Regions from separate parts of the Homo sapiens genome. Here region 2 is linked to region 1. Evidence: promoter capture Hi-C in 16 types of primary human blood cells and fetal thymus (Javierre and others, 2016). All regions are on one chromosome and are shown on one strand. Each heading gives the region's core, a stretch centred on a gene start or on the middle of the fragment in contact. The rest is flanking DNA. Distances are from core to core; before and after follow the strand shown.

Region 1 (4,767 bases), core at 1,471-3,970:
AAAACCTTTTTATCAACCTTATCTTTCCTCTTTCTGTTGTTTCTTCATGCACAGTCATCCTGTTAGCTGATTTCAGAACTCACTTTCAAACTGATTCTTTGGTTTCCTACCACCATGGTTTGGGCTTTCATTGTCTCAAATCTAAATGGGCTTTCCTACCTCTGGTTGCTCTTCATTCCACACCATCCACTAAGATGGCTGGGAAAAGCCTTCCTTTTCTATAGAATTCTGTAGATCATTTTATTTGTCTTCTCCAGTGAGGAAGGAAAAACAGGTATTATTACTTCACAGATGATCATAACTCATATTTACTGAGTACTACTTTATCCTAGACATAGTGGTACACAGGTCACATCAATTACCTCATTTAATCCTCATACTGTAAGGTGGGTATTATCTCTGTTTTACAGATGGGGAAAGAGAGGTTCAGTGATACCCAGGCTCACATGGTTAATAAGTTATGGATCTGGAAAAAACAAGGTAGTTCTATATCCACAGTCCATGTGCTTAAACACAGTATTTTATGTTTCTACCTAACAGGAGTGGAAAATAAGTGACTTTATCAAGGTCACAACTAGAAGGCAGTGACAGTGTATTAGAACACTGGTCCCAGATGCCTAGTTCAGTTTTTCCCAGCAGGCCACTCCTTAAGCAGTCTAATATACCAACCTAACCTGACCAGCTTAGCAAGTCATTGATCTTGAGCACAGCCTAGTCTTCCTCTCCAGATTACCACCTTCTCAGTATAATATGCTAATTCTCATGTACATGCTTTTAGACGTGTGACCAGCATCTCTTTCCACCAGATCAATCCCCAGCCTCCCTTCCATATTTGATTGCAAACTCTCCTCCCTAAAGGATACACCCTCACATGTTTTCTCCTTACCAGACTGTAAGCATCTCTTCTGTAGGGATGCTCACAGCCCCTGCACTAGGTCCTATTTCACTTATTTTTTGAGACGGAGTCTCACACTGTCACTTGGGCTAGAGTGCTATGGTGTGGTCTCTGCTCACTGCAACCTCCGCCTCCCAGGTTCAAGCGATTCTCCTGCCTCAGCCTCCTGAGTAGCTGGGATTACAGGCGCCTGCCACCATGCCCAGCTAAGTTTTTGTATTTTCAGTAGAGACAGGGTTTCGCTATGTTGGCCAGGCTAGTCTCAAATGCCTGACCTCGTGATCCACCCGCCTCAGCCTCCCAAAGTGCTGGGATTACATGCATGAGCCACTGCGCCCAGCCGAACTAGGCCCTATTTCTATAGGTGCTAAAACTAGGCTCTGCCAGCACCTTGTGCAGCAGTTGCTGCCCACCTTACCTTTGCAGGACCCTCTCTCATCTTCTTGATCTGATCCTTATACTTCACTAGCTCAGCATCCAATCGAGAAATCTTCTTGTCAATGGATTCTGCTCTACTGTCCACCTTAGGGGAAAATATCAAATGCACTGGTAGTTACTGCAATACACTTATTCCAGAAGGGGCAGGTAGAGAGGAAGGAATACAGAGGAAGAAAAGAGGAGCTTAAGGGGAAGGGTGAAAAACAGTGGTTCACAAAGAAGGGTATTCCCAACCAGAAACCCTGGGCTTTATAAATTATTCTCTTACCCCCCGCCACACTGCCCCGATTCTGATATACCAGGTAGCCTTCAAGTGGGTTGGGGCAGAAAATAATTTGAGAATCACTGAGTTGAGTTGGAATTTCCCTAGAATCAGAGACTAGCCAGGCTGAGAGTTCCTCCAAGAGGCACATGAAATGGGCCAGTGCCAAGTGAAACCAGCTGATTGTAGATCTAATGCCATTCCCTAAATCGGGGATGGTGGCTTAATCTGAGGGGCTAGGGTTCTGAGTTTTGTGTTACTGAGATCCAGGACGAAGGCACAGATATGTTGACCTAGGATATCAAGCTGAGTCCTGATGTGGACTGGGGATGACAGATGGAAGAAGGGTAAGGGATCAGGCAGGATGAGGTGGGAAGGGTGTATGGGCCTAGGGCTGGGTGAGGTGAGAGGATCAAGGCGAGAGCGAGTGGACGGGCAATGGGCATCAAAACGGGTTGGGTGCTGGCAGGGCAAGGCAGTGATGGGGTTAGGGGTTCCCTGGTTTGTGGCGTTAGGAATGACTTGGGTAACAGGGATGAAGGGGAGAAGGTGAGATAGAGAGGGACGACGTGTAAGGGGCCCAGGACCCGAAATGAAGTGGAAGAATATGGGCCCGGGGCTGGGGGTGGGCGGGGTCGGGTGTGTCAGAGGTCCTGAGCCTACTTATGCATGATCAAATGCCCACCGTGCCAATGCAGTCAGTCAGGCTGGGCGGCGGAGCCTTGGGTTTCGCTTTCCCGAAGAGTCGGTTCATCTTGAGCAGCCGCGAAGAAACCCAAACACTAGAGCAAAACCAGAAACGGAAGCAGAGTCACTCCCGCCTCGACTTCCGGCCCCTCCGTGCGCAAGCGCAATATGCCTCCTGGCGTTTCCCGATTCTTTTTCCGGATTTTCAGCCGGGTCTTCCGGGGATGGAGAGCAAAAGGACTTGGTGCTCTCGGAGAGAGCCTGCAGGGGGCGGGGTGTTGGTAGAAGGAGTGGGAGGGGTTTTACTGTAGCAAGGCGGGGCCTCAGTTGAGTGGGTGGGGCCTGGAGGCAACTAACGCGGCATAGGGCGAGGGCGGGGCCGGCAGGCCGGGGCGGGGCTGGGAAGTAGTCGGGCGGGGTTGTGAGACGCCGCGCTCAGCTTCCATCGCTGGGCGGTCAACAAGTGCGGGCCTGGCTCAGCGCGGGGGGGCGCGGAGACCGCGAGGCGACCGGGAGCGGCTGGGTTCCCGGCTGCGCGCCCTTCGGCCAGGCCGGGAGCCGCGCCAGTCGGAGCCCCCGGCCCAGCGTGGTCCGCCTCCCTCTGGGCGTCCACCTGCCCGGAGTACTGCCAGCGGGCATGACCGACCCACCAGGGGCGCCGCCGCCGGCGCTCGCAGGCCGCGGATGAAGAAGAAAACCCGGCGCCGCTCGACCCGGAGCGAGGAGTTGACCCGGAGCGAGGAGTTGACCCTGAGTGAGGAAGCGACCTGGAGTGAAGAGGCGACCCAGAGTGAGGAGGCGACCCAGGGCGAAGAGATGAATCGGAGCCAGGAGGTGACCCGGGACGAGGAGTCGACCCGGAGCGAGGAGGTGACCAGGGAGGAAATGGCGGCAGCTGGGCTCACCGTGACTGTCACCCACAGTGAGTGTCGGGCGCCAGGTGGGCTCCATGCAGGTCCCGAAAGCCCGGCGGGGTCTGTGGGTTTAGTCACGTGTCCTCCAGAAGCGTGTGACCTTGCGCTTGTCCTGGCGTCCGGAAGCGTGGGTTATTGGTTGTGTCCGTGGAACTGTCTTTTGTCCCGGGCTTGTGTCTGTACACTTTTCCATGTGGCCGGTGTATTTTGTCTCTGGTCATTTGTGCGATCCTGGGTGTTTGAGCTTCTCCGTGCTTTACGTCGTGGGCCTGGTTGTGTTTGTGTGCCCGCGCAGTTATTGTGCCCTTTGTGTCAGGCATATATTGGGCCATGTGGTCTACGACTGCTCCGTGTGTGATAAGTCAGAACTTCGTGCATGCCGGGGTGCTCCTCGTGTGCTGAGTGCCTTCTCCGTGTGCGCCGCTTGAGTTGGCCGTGGGTCCAAGCGTTGTACTCTGGGCACCCTTTGGGTCTGCCTACTGTTGGAGTTGACACACCACCAAATGAAGTCAGTACACCGGAGAGCTGAGTCCATGAGGTTTCTCTAGAACCAGCTAGGGGAGGCCCAAGGGTCTGGGAATCTGGAGACCTGGATTCTAGATCCTGCGGTTTTGAGTGACCTTGGGATGGACGGCTTCTTCTAAGAATCCGGTTTCTCCTCTGTGAAGTAGATTTGGTAACCCTGGCTCCTGCTGACCTCACGGAGCTGTTGGGGGAACCAAACCTTGGTGTAATGTACTGTACACAGGCTCCCTCCTTGCTGTCCGCATCCCTGGAAAAGAATTGGCGTCTCTTCTTCAGAAAGAAAGGCTCTGCTGTTCGTATGCATTTGTCTGTTTACTTAGCACAAATCATGGATGCACTCAAGTGTGTTCAGTGGGAGAGACTTGGAGGAAAACAGTCACTTGCCCATTACAGCAAGCGAGACGAGACCAATACAATACAGGGTACAGGGCAGTCAAGCCACAGGAAGCAGATGGCTTGTGATGAAAAAGGTGGGCTTGGGAATCAGCTAGATCTGATATCAACTTCTGATTCCAACAGTTGAGTCTCCATAGGCAGTCCTTAACTTGCCTGAAGTCACAGTTTGCTCATCTGTGAAATAAGAAGTAATAGGTAGATCTACTTCGTGGGGTTTATCTGAGGATTAAATTAGATTATGCATGAAATGCTTAAAATGTTAGCAGATATCATTCATATTGTTAGTTATTATAATAGAGGAAACAGAGATACTTGAGGAGGTCACCAGAGGAAAGCTGGGTGGCATGGGGGCAGGCTCTGTGGAGTAGGTGGCATATGAGCTGGGCCTTGAAGGCTGGGTAAATAAATGTGATAAAGTGTCATCCTATATTGGTGTATGTGAAAGAATCATATTCGTCAAATGCTTTTCTTTCTCCCCAGGCAATGAGAAGCACGACCTTCATGTTACCTCCCAGCAGGGCAGCAGTGAACCAGTTGTCCAAGACCTGGCCCAGGTTGTTGAAGAGGTCATAGGGGTTCCACAGTCTTTTCAGAAACTCATATTTAAGGGTAAGCATTTCTTTTTCTTTCTTTCTTTTTCTTTTTTTTTT
Region 2 (4,382 bases), core at 1,103-3,602, 270 kb after region 1:
GTGTTTCTGTTGTTTGTGACTTTGGCATATAAACAATGAAAAACTGTTCTTTTTTTTTTTTTAGCTTGACCAATTTTTTTTTTATACTTTAAGTTCTGGGATACATGTGCAGAACGTGCATGTTTGTTACATAGGTGTATACTAAGTGCCATAGTGGTTTGCTGCACCCATCAACCTGTCATCTACATTAGGTATTTCTCCTAATGCTATCCCTCCCCTAGCCCCTCACCCCCTGACACGCCCCAGTGTGTGATGTTCCCCTCCCTCTGCCCATGTGTTCTCATTGTTCAACTCCCACTTATGAGTGAGAACATGTGGTGTTTGGTTTTCTGTTCCTGTGTTAGTTTGCTGAGAATGATGGTTTCCAGCTTCATCCATGTCCCTGCAAAGGACATGAACTCATTCTTTTTTATGGCTGTATAATATTCCATGGTATATATGTGCCACATTTTCTTTATCCAGTCTATCATTGATGGGCATTTGGGTTGGTTCCAACTCTTTGCTATTGTTAATAGTGCTGCAATAAACATACATGTGGATGTGAAGCTTGACCAGTTTTTATAAAATGATTATACCTATGTGACCACCATCCAGATTAGGTTACAGATACATAATATTACCAGCATTCAGAATGAAAACTGTTCTTTTCATTCTGTACACATTGCCTGAGTGAACCCATCAGCTGGCTTGGTTTTAACTACCTCCTACATGCCCCCAAATTGAAATTGTCAGCTTAGACCTCTCTGAGCTTTACCCTCACATCTGACTATCCTCCTGGACAGCTCTGCCTGCAAGTCCCACAGACACTTCAAATTCAGATGACTGAAACTGAACTCAGTGTCTTTCCTGGACTTAACTCTTATCACATTCATCACTAAGTCCTGATAGTTTTACCCCCTAAACATCTCTCAAATCTGTGCAGTCTTCTCCATCTCTACTGTTGTCCTTTTACCTGCAATATCATGGCCTTCTAACTGATTTCCCTGCTTCTAGGCCTGTTCCCCCATATCTTTTCTTCACATTACTCCCCTCCACCCCCAGATGGTCTTTGGAAACAAGTCTGTATCAAATTCCTGCTTAATCTTTAAAGATCTGTCCATGCATTCATCCATTCTTTTCTCTAATTCATTCAGCAAACATTCATTGTCTACTGGCTTGCAAAATCCATTGAAAGTTCTAAAGTTTGAGCTTCTCAGCCAGGGCTCTGCCTGTTCTGAACCCTGCCTGTATCTCCAGCCTCTTCTCTGCCTCATGCTTTAGGTTCCAGCAACACTGAATGGCATCTTCATGGGTACTGTGCTATTTCTTCTTTGTGTACTTGCCCTTGTTCTCTTTGCTTGGAATCTTCTCCCTGTTTCCTTTCTCCACCTCCTGCTCCTCACCTAATTAGGCTGCTCCTTTTCACCTAATTAACCCAGTTTATAAATGGGACTCAGTTATAAAGTTTAGGTCCACCTCCTCCAGGAAATTTTTTCCTGACACCTCCTTCCTCCCAATCTCGGTTGGGTACTCTAGCATTGTGCTTCCACCCTTTGCACAGAGCAATCATCATGTTTACCACATCTACTATTAACATAATTGTTTGTGTTTTTCTCCTCCACAAGATTTATTTTTTTTAGATGAGGTGTTGCTGTGTTGCCCAAGCTGGACTTGAACCCCTAGGCTCAAGCAATCCTTCCACCTCAGTCTCCCAAGTAGCAGGGACTACAGGTACGTGCCACCATGCCTGGCTAAGGCTGAGTTTTTTGAAGGCTGGGCTCATATATTATCTCTTTATTCCCAGTACTAGAATGGCACAAGATACACAGGAGTGTAGTAATTTTGACTGAACGATCAAATGAGTGAAGCCAAAAGTTATATGATGCAGTGGTTAAGAACCCATTCTTTGGAATTCAAATTGTAGTTCTGGCACATATTGGCTATGTGACTTGAACATGTTACTTATCTTCTCATCCTGAATTTTCTCTTCTCAGAATGGAGTTGTGAGTGTTAAAATGAGACCATGTAAGTAAGACATTTAGCATAGTGCCTAGCACATAGTATGCACTTGATAAAGGTGCTGAAAACCGGGGGATCCTGGAGTAAAGACTAGGCCTGGCCCAGGACAGTGATCTCCCGAAACCCCTCCTCATTGTTTTGTGAATGCGTAGGCAGTGATGCAGTCTGTTAGCAGGGAGATTATAATCTTGTTTGGAAAGTAGAATTACATCCACATTAAACAGTCAGAGAACTGTGAAGGTAGTTTGACCACATCCAATAATAAGATGTAGAGAAGAGAAGACAGCTCAATGAAGGCTTTAGGGAGGAGGTGAGGCTTGAAAGTTAAATAGGATTTGGGTTTTAGGAGAAAGGAATACCAGGAGACCATATTAAGAATGACTTAGGCCAGGTGTGGCTCCTACCTGTAATCCGTGCACTTTGGGAGGTCAAGACAGGAGGATTGCTTGAGGCCAGGAGTTTCAGACCAGTGTAGGCAACATAGTGAGAACCCCATCTCAAAATAAAATAAATTAGCAAGGCATGGTGGTGTGTGTCTGTAGTCCCAGCTACTCCAGAGGCTGAGGCTGGAGGACCACTTTAGCCCAAGGAAGTTGAGGCTGCAGTGAGCTGTGATGACGCCCTGCACCCAATCTGGGCAACAGAGTGAGACCCTGTCTCAGAAAAAAAAAAAAAAGAGCGATTTATTTGGGAGATGCTGTTCAGTATATTATACTTGAAGGGTATACATACAGGCATACCTCAGAGACGTGGGTTTGGTTCTAGACAACTGCAATAAAGTGAACATATGCATGTTTTGGTTTCTTAGTGCATATAAAAGTTATGTTTATACTATACTGTAGTCTGTTAAGTGTGCAATAGCATTATGGCTGAACAAACAATGTACACACCTTAATTAAAAGTACTTTGCTAAAAATTGCTAATAGTCACCTGAGCCTTCAGTGAGTTGTGATCTTTTTGCTGATGTAGGGGGGGTCTTGCCTTGACGTTGGTGGCTGCTGACTGATCAGGGTCATAGTTGCTGAAGGTTTGGATGTCTGTGGCAATTTCTTTTTTTTTTTTTTTTTGAGACGGAGACTCGCTCTGTCGCCCAGGCTGGAGTGCAGTGGCGCGATCTCGGTTCACTGCAAGCTCCGCCTCCCGGATTCACACCATTCTCCTGCCTCAGTCTCCAGAGTAGCTGGGACTACAGGTGCCCGCCACCACGCCCGGCTAATTTTTTTGTATTTTTAGTAGAGACTGGGTTTCACCGTGTTAGCCAGGATGGTCTCGATCTCCTGACCTCGTGATCCGCCCGCCTTGGCCTCCCAAAGTGCTGGGATTACAGGTGTGAGCCATAACACCCAGCCCTTTGTTGGCGTTTTGGTAATGTTCATTACATCTTCATCAGGAATAGATTTCATCTCAAGAGACCGTTTTCTTTGCACATCCATAAGAAGCAACTCCTCATCCATTAAAGTATGATCATGAGATTGCAGCATTTCAGTCACATCTTCAGGTTCTACTTATAATTTTAGTTCTCTTTATTTCTGCTATATTGGGAGTGACTTCCTCCATTGAAGTCTTGAACCCCTGAAAGTCATCCATAAGGGTTGGAATCAACTTTTTCCAAACTCCTGTTTATGTTAATATTTTGACCTCCTCCCATAAATTACAGATGTTCTTAAGGGCATCTAGAATGGTTGTATCCTTTTCAGAAGGTTTTCAATTTACTTTTTCCAGGTCCATCAGAAGAATCACAGTTGATAGCAGCTATACCCTTATGAAATGTATTTCTTAATTAATAACACTTGAAAGTCAGAATTACTCCTTGATCCATGGGCTGCAGAATGGATGTTGTTTTATCAAGCACGAAAACAATATTTATCTCCCTGTATAATATATCTCCATCAGGGATCTTGGGTGCATTGTCAATGAGCAGTAATATTTTGAAAGGAATCTTTTTTTTATGAGCAGTAGTTCTTAACAGAGATCTTAAAATATTCAGTCAGTCATGCTGTCGTCCAGGCTTTGTTGTTCCATTTATAGAGCACAGGCAGAGTGGACTGAGTATAATTCTTAAGGGCCTTAGGATTTCTGAAATGGTAAATGAGCGTTGGCTTCAGTTTAAAGTCTCCATCTGCATTAGTCCCTAACAAGACAGCCTGTCCTTGAAGCTTTGAAGTCAGGCATTGACTTCTCTCTACCTGTGAAAGTCCTAGATGGCATTTTCTTCCAGTAGCATCAAAGATCAAAGATCACTGATCACAGATCATTGTAACAGATATAATAATAACGAAAAAGTTTGAAATATTGTGAGAATTACTAAAATGTGACACAGAGACCTGAAGTGAGCACATGCTGTTGGAAAAATGGCACTGAAAGACTTGCTTGACACAGATTTG

The links. Contacts are between HindIII fragments. The CHiCAGO score rates a contact against its expected background, and 5 or more counts as called.
Region 2: a contact is called between a fragment that was not itself captured here and the fragment with the promoter of BAG1 in region 1, in 1 of 17 cell types (neutrophils). The highest score is 5.4, in neutrophils.

What each region holds. Positions count from the first base shown.
Region 1 is chr9:33,262,661-33,267,427 of GRCh38, reverse strand. BAG1 (BAG cochaperone 1) reads left to right here and starts at 2,720. Exons shown (of 7, transcript NM_004323.6): 1 at 2,720-3,204; 2 at 4,598-4,726. The coding sequence starts at 2,754. CHMP5 (charged multivesicular body protein 5) reads right to left here and starts at 2,379. Exons shown (of 8, transcript NM_016410.6): 1 at 2,281-2,379; 2 at 1,314-1,418. The coding sequence starts at 2,349. RefSeq lists enhancers at 2,172-2,411, 2,942-3,531, 3,662-3,711 and a silencer at 2,592-2,911. The HindIII fragment of the contact is 24,709 bases long and covers 1-4,767 here.
Region 2 is chr9:32,994,571-32,998,952 of GRCh38, reverse strand. The region is part of intron 1 of APTX (aprataxin); the gene reads left to right. Among named protein-coding and RNA genes, the nearest start is that of APTX, 4.9 kb to the left of the region's middle. The HindIII fragment of the contact is 3,608 bases long and covers 549-4,156 here.